4 separate regions of the Homo sapiens genome follow, and all the other regions are linked to region 1. The links are contacts of gene promoters, found by promoter capture Hi-C in blood cells and fetal thymus (Javierre and others, 2016). All regions are on one chromosome and are shown on one strand. The core of a region is centred on a gene start or on the middle of the fragment in contact, and the rest is flanking DNA. Distances in the headings are between cores, read along the strand shown.

Region 1 (5,072 bases), core at 399-2,898:
AAACACACCACAATCACTTCTGCTACAGGGCCTTTCATTTGCTCTTCCTTTTGCAAGGAATGTTCTTTTCCAAGACTTTGACACACATGGTCCCTTCTCTTTAGATGTTACTCCAATGTCACCTTCTCTGAGAGTCCTTCCTTGACCAATGTGAAATAGCCCCCCTCATAATCACTTTTACATGATTCTCTATTATTACAATAGTCACAACTCTATTAATATCTGGATTTATTTATGTCTTGTCGATTTTAGAATTTAAAAGCTCTATCCCCAAAGCCTCCCGTAGTATACAGTAGGTACCTAATAACTTTATTAAATACGTGAATTTTCCCCATTGCATTATTGTAAATCAACCAATTCTGATTAAGCACTTTGGTCCATGTCATATTTTGTATTAACAAGTCGTCAAAACACTCCTTAAATTTTCCAATCTAAGACTATTTCAGCACTCTAACCGCAGCCCCCAACACAAAATCTATCTATAGCATCCCACTTAAAACTGCTAAATATTCCATATGGATGAAGATTCAATTTTCTTCCTCCTCTCCAAGCTAACGAACGCGTAGGCGGGAAAGGGGAATTTTACTGGCCACCTCAGCACCTGTTACATCTTCAATCAGTGAAGAGAGGTGCAGATGAGCCAGACAGCACATGGGAGACGTGGCCTTGCTTTCAGGAATTATATTTAGGTGAAACGTGAGTGATTTAAGCTAGAACTGCCCGAATCCCCAATAAAGGCCGTCTACTTCATTTAGAAAAACAAGGTAAAATAATCTGTAGGAAGTAAAATACAGTCGGTTTCACTAAAATAAACCGATTTTGAGGCCCCCGGAAAATATTGCGGGTGGGGGTTGGAGACGGTCTATATATAACGGGAAAACGAGAGCAGCTCAGCAATAAAATAAAGCTCGACTCAGGCTCTCGGGGGTATCCTGAATCTGGAAGCGAGGTGGACGAGGAGGAGAAGCCACAGAACCCTGGGACCTCCGTTCACCGCTTCGGCCTCCACCGCAGGCACTTGGGGAAACTGCACAGATCTCTGGGTCCGCCTATCTCCCACTGCCATCCCTGCAAAGAGATATCCCCCGGATACTCACATGGGCTCGAGAGTCTTGCTGAGCCAGGACTTGAGTGCCTCGAAGTTTTCAATGATCATTTTAGAAACCATCCACAGCGGCCCTAAGGCCCGTCACACTCCTCCGCCCGCCCAGGTCGCGGCCGCTACAGCCGCCGCTGCCCCCGCCCCCTCCTCCGCGCGCCGCCCGCGTGGGCCGCGGTGGGAGGCGCCGGTGGCAGGTTCCCGCGGGCCCCGGTCGGCGAACAGCTCTGCAAGGACCGCCGCAGGCCACAAGTGCACGGGGTGCCAGGAGCTCCCCGTCCCCGGCCCCCAGCCCGGGCTGAAACAGCAACGGTTTGCCCGGGCCCTCCCCCTTCCCTCTTCCCCAGCAAATCTACCCAGACCGGAAGCGCGACACGCGCTTAGACCCGAGCCTTCTCTCAGCCTCGGGACCAGGTGCTTGTTGGCTACGTCGAAAAGGCAAAAGTAAAGAAAGCGAAGGCGAAGGGCAGCTCAATGGGAACGATTCAGGGGGTCTTCCCGGCTCCCAGCACCCCCAAGAAGATGGCTGCCGGTAAATCTCGCGAGAATTGATGAAGTCTCGCGGTGGCTCCCGGAGCCTGCTGGGAGAGACGTAAGGTCGGCGGAGAATGCGCGGGTCGAGTGCTGTAGTTCGATTTTTGCGTGTGTGCGTTGCTTGCGGCCTTTGTGCCTTTTTATTCTTTGCTTACCTTTATGATATAAAGACCTTATTTCTTACAAGGAGGAAAAGACCGCTGACTTCAGAAACAGCGGGAACCCCAGCTCGTCCCCGGTAAGACGGCCGTGGCCTGTCAGCTGGAACGGTCCTGCCGGATGGATCGCTCTTTGAGAGCGTACACTCCCGCGTGCGCGACACCAGGCGGCCCGTAGGTTCCAGGTGCCGAGCACACTACCTCCTCAGTTTACCTAAGTGCCCTACCAGTATCATATTCTGTGTATGCTGTGATGTGAACGAGGTTTGTAAACACAGGCTGGTCTAATGGAGCCCAATGAGACCGCCAGAGGATTAGTGTCTTGTCCAACAGTACTTGACTTGCTGGTAGAGCCCTAATGACTGAGGGCTGCCCACAAGGGAAAGGTGAGAGAACCTTCACGTCTCTCAGGTAGTTTCCAGCCTGCACTTTCCCCCAGCTAAAGATAAGTTTTGTTATTTTTAAAATTCTCTTTATTTAGAGCAAATTCAGCCCTATCTCAGATCGGGAAATTATATAGTATCAAAAGAGAGAGTCTTCATATTAGCAACCCAAATAAATAAACTATTTTCCTGGGTGATCAAATAAGTTTGATTCCTGCTTGAGTTCTATTTAGATACTAGGTGGAATTTTACAAAGGGTCTACGTTCCATGAACTGTAATGGAATGAAAATATTCACAATCTAAAGACATTTTCAGTAAGTAGATCAATAAAAGCTCTTTATGAGAGACACCGATAGGCTAAATTGTTCTTAGGAACTCTTGAGTTTATAATTTGCTAGAGTGAAGTGTCTTTAAGGATTAGGTGGAAAGATTATGAACTACAAAGCAAGACATTTGTTTTAAAATACAGCATATAGAGTAGAATACAAATTAGAATCCAGCTACTGAATAACCAGGGTGTTGATTAAAGTGATTTAGCTGAGTGAAATAAACCAGACATGAAAGGACAAATATTATGATTCCACTTACATTAAGTACCTAGAGTAGTCAAAACTCCTAGAGACAGAAGGTGGAATGGTAGCAAGAGCAGGGGTGGAGAGGGTGCCCAGGAGAAGGGGAAATGAGGAGTTATATTTCAGTGGATAATAGAGTTTCAGTTTAGGATGATTTAGATTCTGGAGATGAGTGGTGTTGTGTGGGTTGCACAATATGAATGTACTTAATGCAGTGGACCATATACTTAATGAAAACGGTAGGTTTTATATGTATTTTACAATAAAAATTGTTTATAAATTTAATACTGCCGAAAGTTAAAATTATATTTGTTTAGTCTGTTTGTTGTAGCCTTGCCACAGGCTGACGCCACCAATATTTTCAACCTTATCACCAGCTACTCCATTACTCTGGCTCTCCACTTCAGCCTTCCAAAGCTTCTATCAAATACTGTATACCCCAGATAAACTGATTTGCTCACCCTCCCTTTCTCCAAACATTTGTTCACTTTATTTTCCACAGAGAACGCTTCTACTTCTTTCCCTGACTGCTCAAACTTTGCCCATCCATCTCTCATACCACTGTCACTGTCTTATTTAAAGTCTTTTATTCTTCCTAAATAATAGCAAAAGCCTTTTAATATCTTTGCCTTTTATGCTGACCTCCATCTCAGTTCATCTTCAGTTGCCCTCATCATCATTGCCTTTAATAGCAGTAATTCTAAAATTTTGATCTAATCATGTCACTTTCTTGCTTAAAATCTTCAACTTCCACATTATCTTTAGAATAAAACACATTATTTAACATCCTATAAAGGGACTTTCATAAATCAGACACCTTCCTTTTTGCCTAGAAACTCCTTTCAGTCTTTGCTCCAGCCATCCTAAACTATTTTGAGTTCCTTAAAATAAGTTGTTCCATGAAAAGGCCCTTTATGCAAAGTGCCCCCCAAACATCAAAGGAGAAATCAAATGAACAAAGCAGACAAATCCAGTTTGGTCAGTAAAGAGTGTTTTGTTGGGGGTAACTTACAGACAGAAGCATGGTCTTCAGTGGCAGCAAGACAGGTAGATGTCTGCCCTTTTACTCCCCAGACCAGTACTTACATGCCATAAGGAAAGGGTGTACGTACTCTATAGAGACATTTAAAGGCAACCCTCCAGACAGGCAAGAATGCTATATGCATCATAGCCTGTAATTTGTGTGATAACATCAGGGTTGCTTTGTTGTTAAACTAAGGACAGTAAATAAAGTAATAATCACAGGGCTGGGGTTAATCAGAAGGCAACATGACAAATTAGCATTCAAGAGGGAGTAAACGTTTGTCTCCACAGAAGTGTGTCCTCTCACTAAATTGAGCCATTGCAAAATGTGTTTCTCTACCTTTCATTTGATAGATTCCTACTTAAGCGTCAAAATGCAGTGCATACAGCATCGCCTTTGGAAATCCATCTTTGACCTCCCTTCTGTAAAGCGAGAGTCCCTCTGAGATTTTCTGACATCAGCCTGTGATTGCTTCTTTTATAGCACTCATAGCTTTATTTTTGCAAGTATGTGATTATCTGTTCTTTAGTGGATTATAGCTTTGAATCCCCCGCTTCAAGAACAGCTGCTAATATATACAGCCAATCCTTATTCACGGTGGTTCTGTAAAAAAGCCACAAATGCTGAATTAGTGAATATGGAACCATTGCTCCTAGGAGAAATGCAGGATTAGGTTCCTTCAAGCCTCTTATTAAATGTTTGTCAACCAGCCCATAAATACCTTGTTTTATGTGTGTTTCTTTTTAAAGGCACCTTATGTAGGAAAAAAAAAAATTTTTAAGGCACCTTATTTAATATAGTTGATTCATTAACATTGAACTCACAGCCAGTGGCACTATAACTCATGCTTACCTGGCGTATGTATTTTCTCTTTAAAAAGAAAGAAGAGCCTTCTGGCACTTAGGGACCCAGATAGCCTCATCACTACACTTGGGGGGCATTTTAAACAGTGAAATCACAAAAAGGTCAAAAATGCAACAAATGTGGCCTTAAATAGACCATGAAAAGGACACTTGTTTCCAGTGTGAGAGCTAAAACAGGAAGGCAGAGCATCCCCTTGTTTCACCAAAGCTGGGAACATGTGCATCAGGTGACTCAAATTTTTTTGCCTCTGTTCATGTCGACAGATGACTGCAAAAGCATTCCAAGTATTGATTTGGGCATTGCAAATAAATTTTAGCAAGTAGGCAAACTCACAAATACAGAATCTGTAAGTAATAAGGATTAACTATATTTTTTGAATGACCAAAGGAAGCCGTACCACTTCCATGAAACCTTTCCTGGCCACTGTGGCTGATAGC
Region 2 (4,811 bases), core at 1,159-3,658, 780 kb before region 1:
TGTATACTAAAAGCCATGCAACTGATCAATTAATCAATTCATGTAATTTATTTGCTTTCTTTCTCCCACGTTAGAATAGAAGCTCAAGGAGAGCAGGTAGTTTGTCTTATATTCACTGCCAGATTCCTAGAACAATTCCTGGTATACGGCACTTGCCTGTTGTGTATTTCTTGAATAAAAGTCATTCTCTTACTTTAAGATACACTAGTGCCTTACATTGAGACAGGGTTGACACCACAGGATAAGCTAAAGGTCCTTGGCCTTCTTTTTACATGTTAAGTATTATGACAGTCACTGTATTACTAAAGTAAACATGTTTTGTTTACTACATTTGACTGTTTACTTTATTTCACTGACACCCAGGAAAGCAACAGAGACTGACATATGTACAGTACAGCCTTTTTTGCTACAGGCTTGACATTCTATACTGCTCCACCCCAAAAAACTTCACCTTAGTAAGACTGCAAATAGATGAGACTTTTGACATGTGTCAGGAAATTTTCAGCTTATCCAAGATAACTATATTAAATTTGGCAAAGGGCAATTTACCTTATTATAGAGAAATAACAATTAGGGATAAGTATCTGATGCTATACTTCCATAGAAGAAGGACATGAGCTTATTTATCTTTGGGTTTTAATACTTTTGTATTCACACTAATTCTAGATATTTGGAGTATACAACACTAAATGAAGCTATGCCAAGGCAAGCCGGAGGGATTTCTAATATCATTTACCATACTTCCTCCTTTTCTTGAGTAAATTTCAAAATGGAGTATTTTTATAAACATTCCATTAGAGACCAAAAGGCTTTGATTTTCAAAGTAGCAGTGATGGCCAAAGGCTTCATTGTGCCAGAAAAAACACTGCAGAGCAGTTTGGGAGCTACAATTGATATCGGAACTGTATTCTGCCAGAATCTAACAGAAGCTTAAAGGATTTTTCAGCTTGCAATATTAACTGATACATACATTCTGGATGAGAGAGAAAAGGATGCCAGTTCCCCTTGTCCAAATAGCTCTAAGAGATACAAGATCATTTCTGTCCCTAGTAAAAGAGAAATGGAAGTCCTATTGGTATGACCTTTGAGGTGGTATAACTAAACTAAAGAGCATCTCTAACAACAAAAAGTTCCTAAGACCATATTTTCTCATAGTCTATCACACAGAAAAACAGGACGTGTTTGAAGAAAACAAATGTGGTAAAAGAATACCACACCTGAGTACCAAAAAACTAATAAGCTCTAGTGCTACGCTACTATCCTTGAGCAATTCACTTTGCCTTTCTGGTTCTCAATGGCAATTCCAACAAAATGGGTAAATGCAGCAAGCCCAGTGGGTGGCCAAGACTGCCAAAATTCAGAAATGCCTTCTTGAGGAGGAACAAGGGGGACATTGGGGAAGTCAGTCCACTTGCCTCATCAAACTTTGACTTTATATGTTTCCCTCACTTGGTAGCTGAGGTAATGAAACAAAGCGAAAGCTATCTTTGGACCTGGACCAGCTTTTGTGGTGTGGCCTATCTGACAGGTTTTCAGTGTTGATATCCTTGCTTTATATGGTTCCAATATGCACAAATTTCAGTTACCATGGTTTAATTTACAAGTCACCCAACAATATGGTTCAAATTTCAGTTACCACACCATTATTAATGAGTAACTGCATGAAGTAAAACCTTCACTTCTAGCTTTTCAGTTCAAAAAACACTACATAAATAATAGACGTGCTTCATGATCAGTGACCCATCAAGTCACTTCTTTCAAGGTCAGTCAGTGATTAGTCACTGTGCATTTACCTGTTTTTCAGTTAACATACAGACAGCAAAGTGTGCAGCTGGGCTGCTCCTTGTCTCCCAGTAAAAAACCCGCATGACATTTCACAAAAACAGTTAATAAAACGACAGAACTGGTCAACAAAGATGAAGGTGTAACAAAGAAATAAACAATGATAACATTGGAAGTGAAATTGAAATCAAATGTAAATGTAGTTATGGAAGAAATCACTGACTGTGGGAATATTACAACAATGTCAGTCCATTCAAGAAATTCTAGATATGCCAGAAGCACTTTGTAGAGGCAAACTTATTGACATGGATGAGAAAAGTGGTGGTGAAAAGGATGAAGATGTCTAGAGAAAATGACAGGCTGACAAAACACTTCGCACTAAAGCAATGTGGAGCTCTTTCACGATATTGAGAGCAAACGATAAAATGCTGGAAGTTGATGCAAACTTAGGAGTGTGAAAATTCATCAAGGTATCAGAAATGATGCTAGCTTCATATCATAAATTATATGAGAAGGGAAGCACTATTCAAATTATTCTCCAGAAGTTTTTCACAAAAAAACCACGAATTCTCAATATTTCTCATGTTTCAAATTGTACTACATAAATATCAATGTACTAAATATTACTTTTACTGTTCTTGCCTATCCATATACATATGTAATTGATAATAAGAGTTAAATGTTTTGACAAAGTTGCTAAAGGTCATCAAACAATTGTGATTTTTCCCATTAATTACTAAGACTGCTTTGGTCCATGGCTCATGCCTGTAATTCCAATGCTTTGGGAGGTGAGGCAGGAGGATGGCTTCAGCTCAGCAGTTCAAGACCAGCCTAGGCGACATAATGAGATCATGTCTCTCCAAAAAAAAAAATATATATCAGGCACAGAAGCATGCGCCTGTAGTCCCAACTACTCAGGAGGCTGAAGCTGGAGGATCGCTTGAGCCTGGGAAATCAAGGCTGCAAGTGGGCTTCATAAAGTAATGGTTGATATGGGACAAAACCAAATAAATTTATGTGTCTCAAATATTTTTCTTTAAAGAACTGCCACTTAATCTGAGAAAGAATGATCCATTCATAGAATGGATTTTATTGTGGACTTGCCTGTCTACATAGCCATAGTAGCTTCTCATTTCCTAAATTTCAGAAATATTAGGAAAGTATCTTTTCTATTTTAAACACAGGGAGCTAAGGTTTCAGAGAGAAGAGCTTTCCATTTGCCCTTTCCTTTCTTAATTATATCTCCCAACACACAATCTACCAGTTTCAGATTCTCTGAGTTTCCTAACTCCTCTTTTTGATTACACTTAATAAGTGAGTAGCCTTAACAGGAGCTCTATAGAAATCCGAGTTTTGACAGAAGTGAGAAGAAAAATGAAAAGGTCCTGGTACTGGTATCTATCTTGTGTACATGTGTGCAGGGTGGGTGGGGCACAATTTAGGAAAAGCGGACAGGGAGGACCAGAGCTGTAGGAAACCCAAAACTGTGTTAGGTGGTGGGGGAGAAGGTTCAAAGCCTCTGGCATCTCTTTTCTCTCACCTGCTTCCTATGGATCATTTGTGCATTACCCATCCTTGTATATGTGTTGGGAGGGTAGAGAGGAAACATTCTGTCTTTAAACTACTAGGGAAGTTTTGGGAAGCAACCCATACATTTATACTGTTGCTGAGCTATATAATTTGCCAATGTTTCCTCAAGAGAGTTTTCTCTTTTTAAAATTAAGCTGTCAGTTACAAAATTGCTACATTCCTAGAAATTTGTTAATCATAAAAGTACTATCTATGGTCAATCCTAGTCACACGCGTTGGTTCCACAAAAATGTTAAATGAGATATACTGAAAGAGAACATTTAAAAAAAAAAAAAAAAGGAAAGTGAACTTTTGGCTGGAATTTACCGAAAGTAAGTGTAACAAATACATCTTTAACACTGCATAACTGACTACTATTGACAATGATGATGACAAAAAGAAAAGCAGCTGCCACAATTCATTGTTTACTTGGCATCAAGCACAGTGCTATATGCTTGATATATATTATCTCATTTAATCCTCATATCAACTTTATGAAGCAAGATTCATTATTCTTATTTTAAAAATGAGAAATGAGAAGCTTAAAAGGGGCTTAGCAGCAGGAATAGGATTTGAATCCAAGTCCTTCTGAACCCATACACCATGTTTGAAATCGTATTAAATACTTGAACATAAGGCCCTTCTTAAATAATATCAGTACCTATTTATATTTCATATCAAAATGTAGACTAGATTTTTCTAGGCAAAATGTGTATACAGAGTCAATGAACTAGGATTCTTGTGCTATTTATTGGTACATACATTGGCTAATAGAAACACAGAGGAAATACAAAAATTGTAGGAAGACATATAGTATGTATGCACAAATTCAGTAAACATTTATCAAACCACCACCATATTTTAGGCATAAATCCAGTAATATTTTGAAATTTTAAAAGATCATTTATTAAAGTGGCCTTGCATGAAAGTACAGCATTGACAGACCACCCTGGTAAATGCCAACCCAAATATTTAACCAGAGATATAAAGACTAAGTTTGAAACAGAGCTGAAAGCATAATACTTAAATGTGCTATGTATAGAAAGTATGTATGATAAACTTGCCTGGTTCATGCACAATCAGCAGGTATCTTCAACTACAAGTAAAAGATGTTTTTTATATGAAATGAGAAAAACTAAATGCAAAATTTTAAGGCCTAAACATCACATGGGTTATTTCTCAGGGTATAATTAAGAGAAATAAAAAAATACAAGCTACGTTATGTTGCATCTTAGTTTTATCACAAAACAGAAAGTGTTCCAATATTTGCAAGAATAAAAAATGCCAGAATTTCACCCTTAAAGACAAAGTTGATAAAGACAGGGGAACAAGACAAAGAATTATGCCCTTGCAGTAATTCCTTATCCCTCCATCTTCTAAAAGTACCATTTAAAAATCAAAGTAGAGTTTGCTTTTCAAGTTTTCAAATGAAGAGCAGGGTTAATAATTAATAGCTTATA
Region 3 (4,887 bases), core at 1,907-4,406, 940 kb after region 1:
TTGTGCCTCCAAAGTTTAGAGAATTATAATCCAAAAGAGGAACTATGTTTTTGTGTATGTATGATGCATGCACAATGAAATGTCTAGTGCAGCTATTGTAATGTGTCCCCAAACTGATTCTCATGTTACATTCCAAAATTATAACTGAGACTAATTTTGGAAGATACTTTCAGAAGTATGATAGAATGTAAGGCAAAACTTAACACTACACACACACACACACACACACACAAACCTGTTTTCAACTGTGTTGTGGAACGTTCTAGAGAGACAACTCTGACACATGAACAGGTGTTGCCATTTGCCTAATGCTGGAAAATACAGAATCTATGGAAATCCATGCTGCACCAATAACTCACTGCTAAGTTTCTTTCTTTCTTTCTTTTTTGAGACGGAGTTTCCCTCTTATTACCCAGGGTGGAGTGCAATGGTGCGATCTTGGCTCACTGCAGCCTCCGCCTCCCGGGTTCAAGCGATTCTCCTACCTCAGTCTCCCAAGTAGCGGGGATTACAAGTATCCGCCACCAAGCCCGGCTGATTTTTTGTAATTTTTTTAGTAGAGATGGGGTTTCACCATGTTGGCTAGGCTGGTCTCGAACTCCTGACCTCAAGCGGTCCACCCACCTTGGCCTCCCAAAGTGCTGAGATTACAGGCATGAGCCACCACGCTTGGCCCCAAGTTTCTAATACTCACCAAGTAACATACCTTCCTAGTACTTGTCGTTAAATAGGACTCTGGTCACACACTTGGGATCTGTCATCTCTGGCTTCATTTTATATTCTGTATTCATTTATTTATAATTACTTCATTTTACAACTATAATCTCAACTTTTTTCAATGAGACAGTACATAAAATATGTGCATTTTGTTTTTTCCAATCTTTGGTTGAAGGCATCAATAGACATGCTTCTTTGCTAGTAGGTGTGTTGAGTGAGTTGAAGTGAGATATTTGTAAGATTGCACTTGCTGGCTGGTGTAAGCTTTGAATTTATGTTGTAGTAACGGGAGAGTGCATCTTTTAGCAACCGTAGCTCGTTTTTCCGGGATTGCACAAACCACTTGGCCTTAATAGGTTTAGTCCTAGTACTGATATCTTGCAATGATATCACACATTCTTGAGAAAAAGAAGAATGAATAGCTATTTGGTTAGTTTGTTAGTTCTATTACCAAGGCAATCTATTTGAAGATGGCACAGAATGTAACAGTGTGTGCTGCTTCCACGACTAACAATTTGGGGCTTTCAACCATTATCTCTCCTAACAGCCCAGTTGCAATAGTAAAATTAGTCTATGCATGGCCTCTTCAGGGACCTTCCTGAGACAAAGGGTTTTGTAATGATGGACCTTTTGTTTTGACAACTGTGACTCTAGTCATTTCACTTTTGAATTTCCCAAATTCTGTTGATAATGCCTCTAGAAGGGAATTGGGAGTGGCTGTAACAAAAGATGCAAAGGAATTCAAAATAGACCACTTGAGTTCTTATCTAGATTGCTTGAAGGACTGGAAACAGTTATCTCTGGATCTAACCTTCTTTGGAGATATATTCTTTATCCCTAACTAAACTGGGGGAAAGCTCTGGGGTTCTCTCAGGGTAAGAGGGGTGGTGTTGCAGAGTCGACCTTGAGCTCCAGGCTCCTGCGGGTCTGGTTTTTTCCGGAGGCCTTGTATTCAACTGGGATCCACCTGGTGATTTTTACTGGTTAATTAATGAATACTCCTGTGAGATGCATGCACATTATGACTACAGTTTATGCAAGGTCTGATGTGAACTGAAGTTCTATAACAAGGCAGAAACAGAATTTCTCTGCTGGCCAACACGATTTTTCTCATTATTTTTTTCAATTTATCTATCCTTTGGTTTGAAGATTAAACTTCTTTGTAGGACTGATATGTGCAGAGAAAACCTAATCAGTGAGGACATTGCATTCTTTCACTGCATTTCCCTGAATAGCCCTGGGTTTATTTGTTTTTGTTTGTTTTTAACATTTGATCCCCTATGTTCTGGATCATATAAGCAAAAATCATTAATTGAAATTAGTATTTGGATATTACTGGCCAAGATTAGTAGCAGTTGGAAGATTTTAGCCCCGGAATAGTTGGAGGGTTTTGCTTTTATACTTCCTATTATGTGGACACTTGGTCAAAAGGGCATAGGAAGTTCAACCTGTTCTCTAAGAAAGATGTAGTTAAACAGATTCCACTTAAGCCATTCTTACTGTGCAGATGCCACACAATATCAGGGCTGCCGGCCAGCTCGGAATTAACCTCCGCTAACAGATCAAGTCCAAAATTGTTCAGTTTGGTAAACGGACTATGATTGCATGCAGATTTAGTTTGTTTGTTCCTTTGGACAGGAAGTGTTTTGAAGTTACAGAGAATCATTTGAGAATATTGTGGGGTAGGTAGAAACAGCTTTGTTTGTGCATATTGTGTTGGATGGAACTTTAAAGGATAGACTGCTCCAAGGATCTGGAGACTATATATCAAGGCTGCCTTGGACTTCTTTGGAACCTGGAATTGAAACAGGAAGATTCTTCACCTTCTCATTCATTTTCTTTTCTTTTCTTTTTTTTGCTCTCTCTCTCTCTTTTTTTTTTTTTTTTTTTTTTCTTTGACAGGTCTCACTCTGTTACCCAGGCGGAAGTGCAGTGGTGTGGTCATGGCTCACTGCAGCCTTGACCTCCCTGGCTCAAGAGATCCTCCCACCGCAGCCTCACAAGTAGCTGGGACTACAGTAACATGCCACCACGCCAGGCTAATTTTTTAAATTGTTAGTAGAAATGAGGTCTTATTATGTTGCCCAGGCTGGTCCTGAATTCCTAGGCTCAAATGATCATTCTGTGTCAGCCTCCCAAAGTAGCTTACAGTGGCTTACAGGAGTGAGCCGCTGTGCCCAGCCCAGCATTTCATTCTTAAAAAAAGAAAGCACTCACTCCGATCTCTGTAGACACTAGACACTCACTAAACGCTTTTCAATGAATGAATGAAATTAAGAAGTATAATTAGGCCGGGTGTGGTGGCTGACACCTGTAATCCCAGCACTTTGGGAGGCCAAGGTGGGCGGATCCTCTAAGGTCGGGAGTTCGAGACCAGCCTGACCAACATGGTGAAACCCCGTCTGTACTAAAAATACAAAAATTAGCTGGGCGTGGTGGCGCATGCCTGTAATCCCAGCTACTCAGGAGGCTGAGGCAGGAGAATCGCTAGAACCCAGCAGGCGGAGGTTGCGGTAAGCCAAGATCGTGCCATTGCACTCCAGCCTGGGAAACAAGAGTGAAATTCCATCTAAAAAAAAAAAAAGAAAAAAAAAGTATGATTAAAATAAGATAATATTTTAAAGTCTTAATTTTGTAAAAGGAAATTCACAGTTTTTGAATTCTTTAATGGCAGAAGTTAAGTCATTCTGCTGTTCTAGAAATTACCATTGTGTTTTGCATAATTACTAGGAAGTGACTGAAACAAGTTTGTTAAGGCTATGATTATTTGGTTTTGTTTTGTTTTTTGAGACAGAGTCTTGCTTTGTCGCCCAGGCTAGATTACAGTGGCACAATCATAGCTCACTGCAACCTCTGCTTCCTGGGTTCAAGTGATTCTCTTGCCTCAGCCTCCTGAGTAGCTGGGACTACAGGCTACCTATTAGCCTGTCACCATGTCCGGCTAATTTTTGTATTTTTTCTAGAGGTGGGTTTCACTATGTTGGCCAGGCTGGTCTTGAACTCTTGACCTCAAGTGATCCACCCACCTTGGCCTCCCAAAGTGCTGGGATTACAGGCATGAGCCACTGCGCCTGGCCAGGGCTATGACTTTTAATAGGTGAAATATTAAATACTTATTAAATTACAAATAAATCTTTATGGAAATGTGAGGTAACTGGAAATAAAGCTGTAGGGAACATCTAGTTTTAAACTATATAACAAAGAAATGACAAAGAGGATGATGATGGGTGGGTAAAGAATGTAGGTAAAAGTAAACTTTTTACTTTGAAAGATATGACTATATTAATAATTAAAATTAAGTGTTAAACTGTAATTTCAAATAAGAAGTTAGCAGTCTGTTAACTTTCAAGAACACATTTTAAAAATAGCTCAAGGAAGCCGTCAATTAGTGGACAGTTTGCCGTTCATGTTGTATGTGAGAAATCCCCTTGCACTTTTGGTAAGTATTCTTCTCACCCTCATTTTACACCACAGAGACCTTCTTGCATTATATCCTAACATGTGTTAAAATAAATATATGAGCAAAATTAAAAATTAGATCTTCAGTCTGGGCACAGTGCTTCATGCCCGTAATCCCAGCACTTTGGGAGGCTGAGGAGGATGGATCACCTGAGGTCAGGAGTTCAAGACCAGCCTGGCCAACATGGTGAAACCCCGTCTCTACTAAAAATGCAAAAATTAGCCAGGCGTGGTGGTACACATCTGCAGTCCCAGGCACTTGGGAGGCTGAGGCAGAATTGCTTGAATGCAGGAGGCAGAGGTTGCATTGAGCCGAGATCGTGCCACTGTACTCCAGCCTAGGCGACAGAGAGACACTCTGTCTCAAAAAAAAAAAAAAAAGAAAGAAAAAGAAAAAGAAAAAGAAATTAGATTTTCAAAATCATTATTTTCTTTTTTTAAACTGTAGTTGCTAATAGAAAAAGATGCTCAAGATTGAACTTTTGATATCATAATAGGTTCCAGAGACTTTGGTAGTTCAAGAGAGCTGGATTTGGATGCAATCTAGACCACTTTGGGTGAATCTGATCACAATTGCCTGTTGCTTAGATTCTCCCCTGGCTTCACATTACTTTCTGGGTAAAGATCCAAGTCTTTCAAACAACTTCAAGGTCCTACTCTGGTCTGGCTGTTTTCCCTCACCAGACTCCTGTTACACCAGTTCTCTTCTCT
Region 4 (5,239 bases), core at 866-3,365, 820 kb before region 1:
AGCAGGTCGCCAGGCCCTTTTCCTCTCTCAGCCAAAGTATGCCCAGTCTACATCCCCGCCCCACCACCCCAGCCACGCGGGCGGGACTGCGTCCATAGGACGCACCTCGCAGATACTGCAGCCTCCCTCCAGTTGTTCCAGCTTCCCGAGGCCCCAGTTGTTTCAGTCCCATCGCCAACTGGCAAAAGCAGTTTTCTAGTCTGCCTTCTGAAGACGTCTCTTTTTATCCAAGTACTTTTGCCATAATATATGGGTAGTGTCTCACTTTCCCCAACTCTACAATGGACTCGAATAGACTGTTTTGTCTTTCGCCAAAGATTTGAGAAAGATTCTTGAGCTGTGGAGAGATTTTTGCACTAAAAAGATTCTTGAAGGAGAAGGAGTAGGAGAGAAGCAATAGAATATTTTCAAGCAATATCCAAACAGGCTTCTAGACTGGAGAATAAAATTAATTCAATAAAATATAACACATTTTTTTCCTTAACTAATAATACTCAGAGATGGTGATATGGATTTCATTAGACTTGAGTTACAGTTTGGTTGTAGACTCAAGACTGCATGAATTCTGTGTGTGCTGTTCCTGGGATTGGGCTGAAGCCTTACCCTCCAGGAATTAGAATATTTTCGGGGCAAGGTTGGAGAATCCATTAATAGAAGAATTATTTTTTTTAAAAAAAACTCTTGTTTTAATAAAGTCTTGCATTTGAGGCTAAATTTTAGTATTTGTCTGAGAAAAGTGGGTGGGTTCGGTTGTGTGTGTGTGTGTGTGTGTGTGTGTGTGTGTGTTTTCCTTTTGGCATTGGTATGTGTGATTTGCAGTCCAGGTTGTTAAGTTTCCAAGCAGGAACCAGTTAAAAATGCATGGATCCTATTATATGTACAATTTAATCACAAGGTATTTAAAATAGACATTTCCATCTAAAATCCAATCTGAAATCAACACAGTTCCTCCAGGCATTAGACGTTCATCTCGATTTTGCATTTGTAAACTGGGAGAAATAAATGTGACTTGTGGATACCAAGAGGTCAAGTACGGCTGCTCAAATATTTTTCTTACAAAATGACGGATTTATTAGACAAATAAGTAGCCCGGCTGATGCAAAACCCCCAGTGATTGAATTTTGACGTTAAGTCAACAACAACTCGAACTACATCAGTGGTTCAAGATTTAGTTATGATGGTAGAGATTACTGAACAAATAAGAGCCAGAAATGAATACAGATTTCTGAGGATCTGCCCCTGGCACCCTCTTCTTGACATTCTCCTCCATATGCTCCCCCTATTCATACTGTATTATAATTAAAGGACTTAGCTATGCCTTGCGATTGGAAAGGAACTTTAAAATAATTAGGCATATTTTCCTGTTTTTTTTTTTTTTTTTTTTTTTTTTTAAAGAGCAGGCTCAAGGAGAAAACCAGTTGAGTTTCATAATAAATTCCTTCTTGGCCTGAAAGTCACCCACCATTAGAAGGGAGGTAGCATTCAGTGGGTGTTTTTCTTTCTCTCTCCCTTTTTCAGGTTTTATTTTCATTAAGAATTTTGATAACCTGCTCTTTCTCTACCCCAGCCCCCACCATGCCCCCATGCCTCTTCCTCACTTTCCTATGAAACATCACTTTCTAAAATATTTGAGGACTTAGGCTTTATTTAGTATCCCACAGAAGATCAGAATCCACTGCTAAATAATTAAATCGCCGGTAGATTTTTAGGAGTATTTAGGTTTCACCTCTCCTGGGTCAATAGCTGCTCTCCCGCCCGCTCTCCCCTTGACCCTCCCTGGAGCTGGCCGCGGTGCTGAAAACCTTGCGTGACTCTTGTGAAAAGGGAGGGCACCACTAATGGAGGATTTGGAGGAGTTACTTATCTTTGCTCTTCATGAAAGGAAGCTTAAATAATTGAGACTACATTTAAACATAAAGCAGTTCATTTCTCATCTTTTCATGGAGAAAGGGACTGATCTGCTCCTAGTGTGAAAATCTGCCTTTTATTTATTCTATGTGTAACTTCCTTATTGTAGTGGAATAGTGACTCAATTTTCATTTGACTCTTGTGGAGCCAGCCAAGAATCCATTCCTTACACCTTCTTCTCTTATTCTGTGATTTTTCAGTTATAGTTTGGTTCCCTCTAGTTCATGGAACTGCTTATTTTGCAGGGACAAATCTATATTTCATTTTAAGAATTCATCTGATCAAGGGCTTGAAACAATTTCTCTTTGCAGATAGAAATTTGTTCTTTGGGTATCCAGGCACAAACCGCTAGAGGCAATAAAGTGGTGCCAGATTTTTATCCTAGATTTTATTTAAATACAATAATAATCCCACTCTGTAAAATAAGTTGTCCATCCAAGCTTCTCTCCCAGTTTGCCATATATCTCTCCCATGTATGCATGTACTGCTAATTTGTACAAATGTTTTACTTGTGCTGGGTTCTAAATCATCTATTGCTTTGGTTGCTCTCCTGATAAATAAACCTGGACATCCAAAATTACTAACCATCTAATAGTAACAGAATTCACTAAGTAGAACGAAATGTTTCATAATTATTTTGCCACTACCCACAATTAAATAATAAATTGTGAAAATGAAGCTCTTCTATTAGGGAGGGGGATGTCGTTCTCTTTTCTTCTTCCTTTTAAAATACTGAGTAGTATCTTCAGTCTAACAATACATCTGTTTACAGTTTGCCTGAACTTGTTTCTGAATTTATATTTCAATATGCTCTTTAGGATGCAAAATTCCTGTCAAATTAAAGAGTGCTCATGTCTTGCCCGCTTCTAGCAAATCACTTGCAGCACCTAATAAATCCAGCTGGGGTTCCTTCCATGGCCTGATGCTGCTGAAATCATTATTGTCCTGCCTTGTTTCATGTCAGAGGCCTCTTCGCCTCATCTGTCATGAAACCAATTTCACTTTATTTACATCCATTTGCTAGTTTAATTACTGTGCTGATGAATAGCCTGAAGGAATTAAGTTATGAGTCTTTGGAAACCCAAAGCGACAGATATATGGGCTACCTTTTAACTACAGGGAAAGAAATGAAGGCTAATGGCATGCACCAAAATTTAAAGATAATAAGTGTTTCTCCCTACCTGCTACTGTTGAAATTCAGGATGATTCTTTCTTCATGTATTCATCATCTCCTGGATGAAATATAGTGCTTTAGAATCTGTCATATTTACAGATTGACTTTTAGAATCTGTCATATTTACAGATTGACTACAGTTCTCTACAACACAATTTTCTATTTTTAAAATCTTTTTTTTTTTTTTTTTTTTTTACTAAAAGAGTCACAGATAATTTACTAGCCAAAAGCAGTGGTGTTTTTAATTAAAAACACCTCTCAATATTAACCTGTCCCTGTAACTGAGCACTTACTTCTATATAAAGACAGACAGGTTCCCTTGTGAAAATAAAGAATATTTAATACCTCCCATCTAATACATAGTACAAAGTACTCCACTTTTATACTGTAAATATTGTAATAGATCGCACTATATAATTTTTGTTTCTTATTGAGTACAATTTCACAGTTATCTTTTTTCAAGTAATCTTGCACTTTCTAACACAATTATCTTCTTTAATGTATTTTTGAATCATAAAAACATTCTGCTGCCTGTCTCTTTTACATATCCAATACAATAGAGCACTATCAGTCTTTGTTAATGACACAGGGCGTATGGGGTGAGTGAATAATCTGTGTTCTCAATATATATAAGTAGTCAACATTTACATATGTATTTTTTAAATCTAAGGTCAATAAACTTTTCAATAATTCTATTATCTTACAAATTAACTACTGCAGTGTAAGCCTACTAATTATGACAATATTAAAAAGTCATTTTCAAGGGTATTCTTTCTTAAATGCTATCAATAATTATAGATTTTTAAACTTAAAAAGTATTCTTGTGGCCCATCATCACTTACTGCCAATTATAACAATAAGTAAATATGCTTGAATTGACTTTTTATTTTATATTTTCTCTATCCTCAGGTAGCATTGCACATGAAAAGAATGTAACTTTTAAATCCAAGAACCTATATGTTTTCCTTTCATTGCTCTGTTTCTGATATAGGTCTGATATTTTAAAATCTGTACTTCCACTTGATTTCTCTAAAAAGAATTAGTTTAAGACACATGACAAATATGGTCATTATTTCAAGAAAGAATTCAAATATTTTTCTTACACACTTAGTATACTTACTCATTCATGCCCTCTCCATGCTGAGTATATAATTACATCTAATATTGTGCAAACTTTCTAAACTAGTTATTTAACTGAAAACAATTTTAAACACTCAAAGGCAAGAGATATTACTAAACAACAAAGAAATGAAAAAGATGGAACTTTTAATGTTTTCTCATTTCTTCTCCTTCTAAAAAAATTAAGTACTATTTTCTATCCTGTATATTTTGCAGTTTCATTTATCAAAAAGCCAGCCTAAAGGAAGAAACAAAAATCTTAACACATTACATTTACTCTCAGAAGAACTAAAAAAAGTGAAAACTCTACTGTCCATGCAAATATATATTAATAATTATATATTCATTACAAATCCCCCAGGCACCTCCCTCCATGACCTTCTTACATCCCCTAAACATACAATTTCCGTATTCTCCTCCCACTACTTTTAATAAAGCACATTTACCAAACAATGTACATAACAAAAATAACTTTTGTGCCATCAGAGTCTTGCCTATAGAAGTTTTGCAATAAAGCAAACCCAAATAAGACCTTTCAGGTAAAATATCCATCTATTTCAGTAGAACCAAATGCTATGCTAATTACTTAGTAGACATTTATGAACAGTCTTTAACTCGACAGCAAAGAAATTTTATTGATGGAGCCTTCTTTAGATATTTTTATTCATTTTTTATTTAAAAAATGAAGACATGTGAGTTTTAAATGCTTTTTCTTTTCCCCTCCTCCTCCCCCATCTCTCTCATTCTCCCCCCTTCTGAAGACCCTCTCTTTCCTCTCCAGCTCTTTTTGATTAATAGATCCATGTGGCTAACGGCCTGACATATGGTGTGCGAAGCAGCTTGAGATAGTACCTTAGGCATCCCCTACGGCCATTAACATATTAGGGGCTTATGTGCAGTCAGACAGTCAGACCTCATCGAGAGCCAGCATTTTCAGAAAGGCTGAACCCCAGAGCTGTTTGATAGAGAGTTTCAATAATGCACCACTCTTCAATTTTAAGGGAGTTGCTTCTGGTGCTGAAACACTGGGACAGAACC

Evidence for each region. The method cuts DNA at HindIII sites, captures the fragments that hold promoters and counts their contacts. A CHiCAGO score of 5 or more calls a contact.
Region 2: a fragment that was not itself captured here is called in contact with the fragment with the promoter of RBM26 in region 1 in 2 of 17 cell types (naive B cells and naive CD8 T cells); the score reaches 5.8 in naive B cells.
Region 3: a fragment that was not itself captured here is called in contact with the fragment with the promoter of RBM26 in region 1 in 1 of 17 cell types (fetal thymus); the score reaches 5.4 in fetal thymus.
Region 4: a contact is called between a fragment that was not itself captured here and the fragment with the promoter of RBM26 in region 1, in 2 of 17 cell types (naive CD8 T cells and naive CD4 T cells). The highest score is 6.3, in naive CD8 T cells.

What each region holds. Positions count from the first base shown.
Region 1 is chr13:79,404,607-79,409,678 of GRCh38, forward strand. RBM26 (RNA binding motif protein 26) reads right to left here and starts at 1,649. Exons shown (of 22, transcript NM_001366735.2): 1 at 1,098-1,649. The coding sequence starts at 1,168. RBM26-AS1 (RBM26 antisense RNA 1) reads left to right here and starts at 1,703. Exons shown (of 7, transcript NR_038991.1): 1 at 1,703-1,871. RefSeq lists a silencer at 1,205-1,404 and enhancers at 1,314-2,305, 1,635-1,934. The HindIII fragment of the contact is 7,810 bases long and covers 1-3,162 here.
Region 2 is chr13:78,619,637-78,624,447 of GRCh38, forward strand. The region is part of intron 5 of OBI1 (ORC ubiquitin ligase 1); the gene reads right to left. Among named protein-coding and RNA genes, the nearest start is that of POU4F1, 18 kb to the left of the region's middle. The HindIII fragment of the contact is 2,963 bases long and covers 928-3,890 here.
Region 3 is chr13:80,343,729-80,348,615 of GRCh38, forward strand. No RefSeq gene overlaps it. Among named protein-coding and RNA genes, the nearest start is that of SPRY2, 5.0 kb to the left of the region's middle. RefSeq lists an enhancer at 1-20. The HindIII fragment of the contact is 4,354 bases long and covers 980-4,887 here.
Region 4 is chr13:78,587,627-78,592,865 of GRCh38, forward strand. The region is part of intron 3 of OBI1-AS1 (OBI1 antisense RNA 1); the gene reads left to right. Among named protein-coding and RNA genes, the nearest start is that of POU4F1, 13 kb to the right of the region's middle. The HindIII fragment of the contact is 462 bases long and covers 1,885-2,346 here.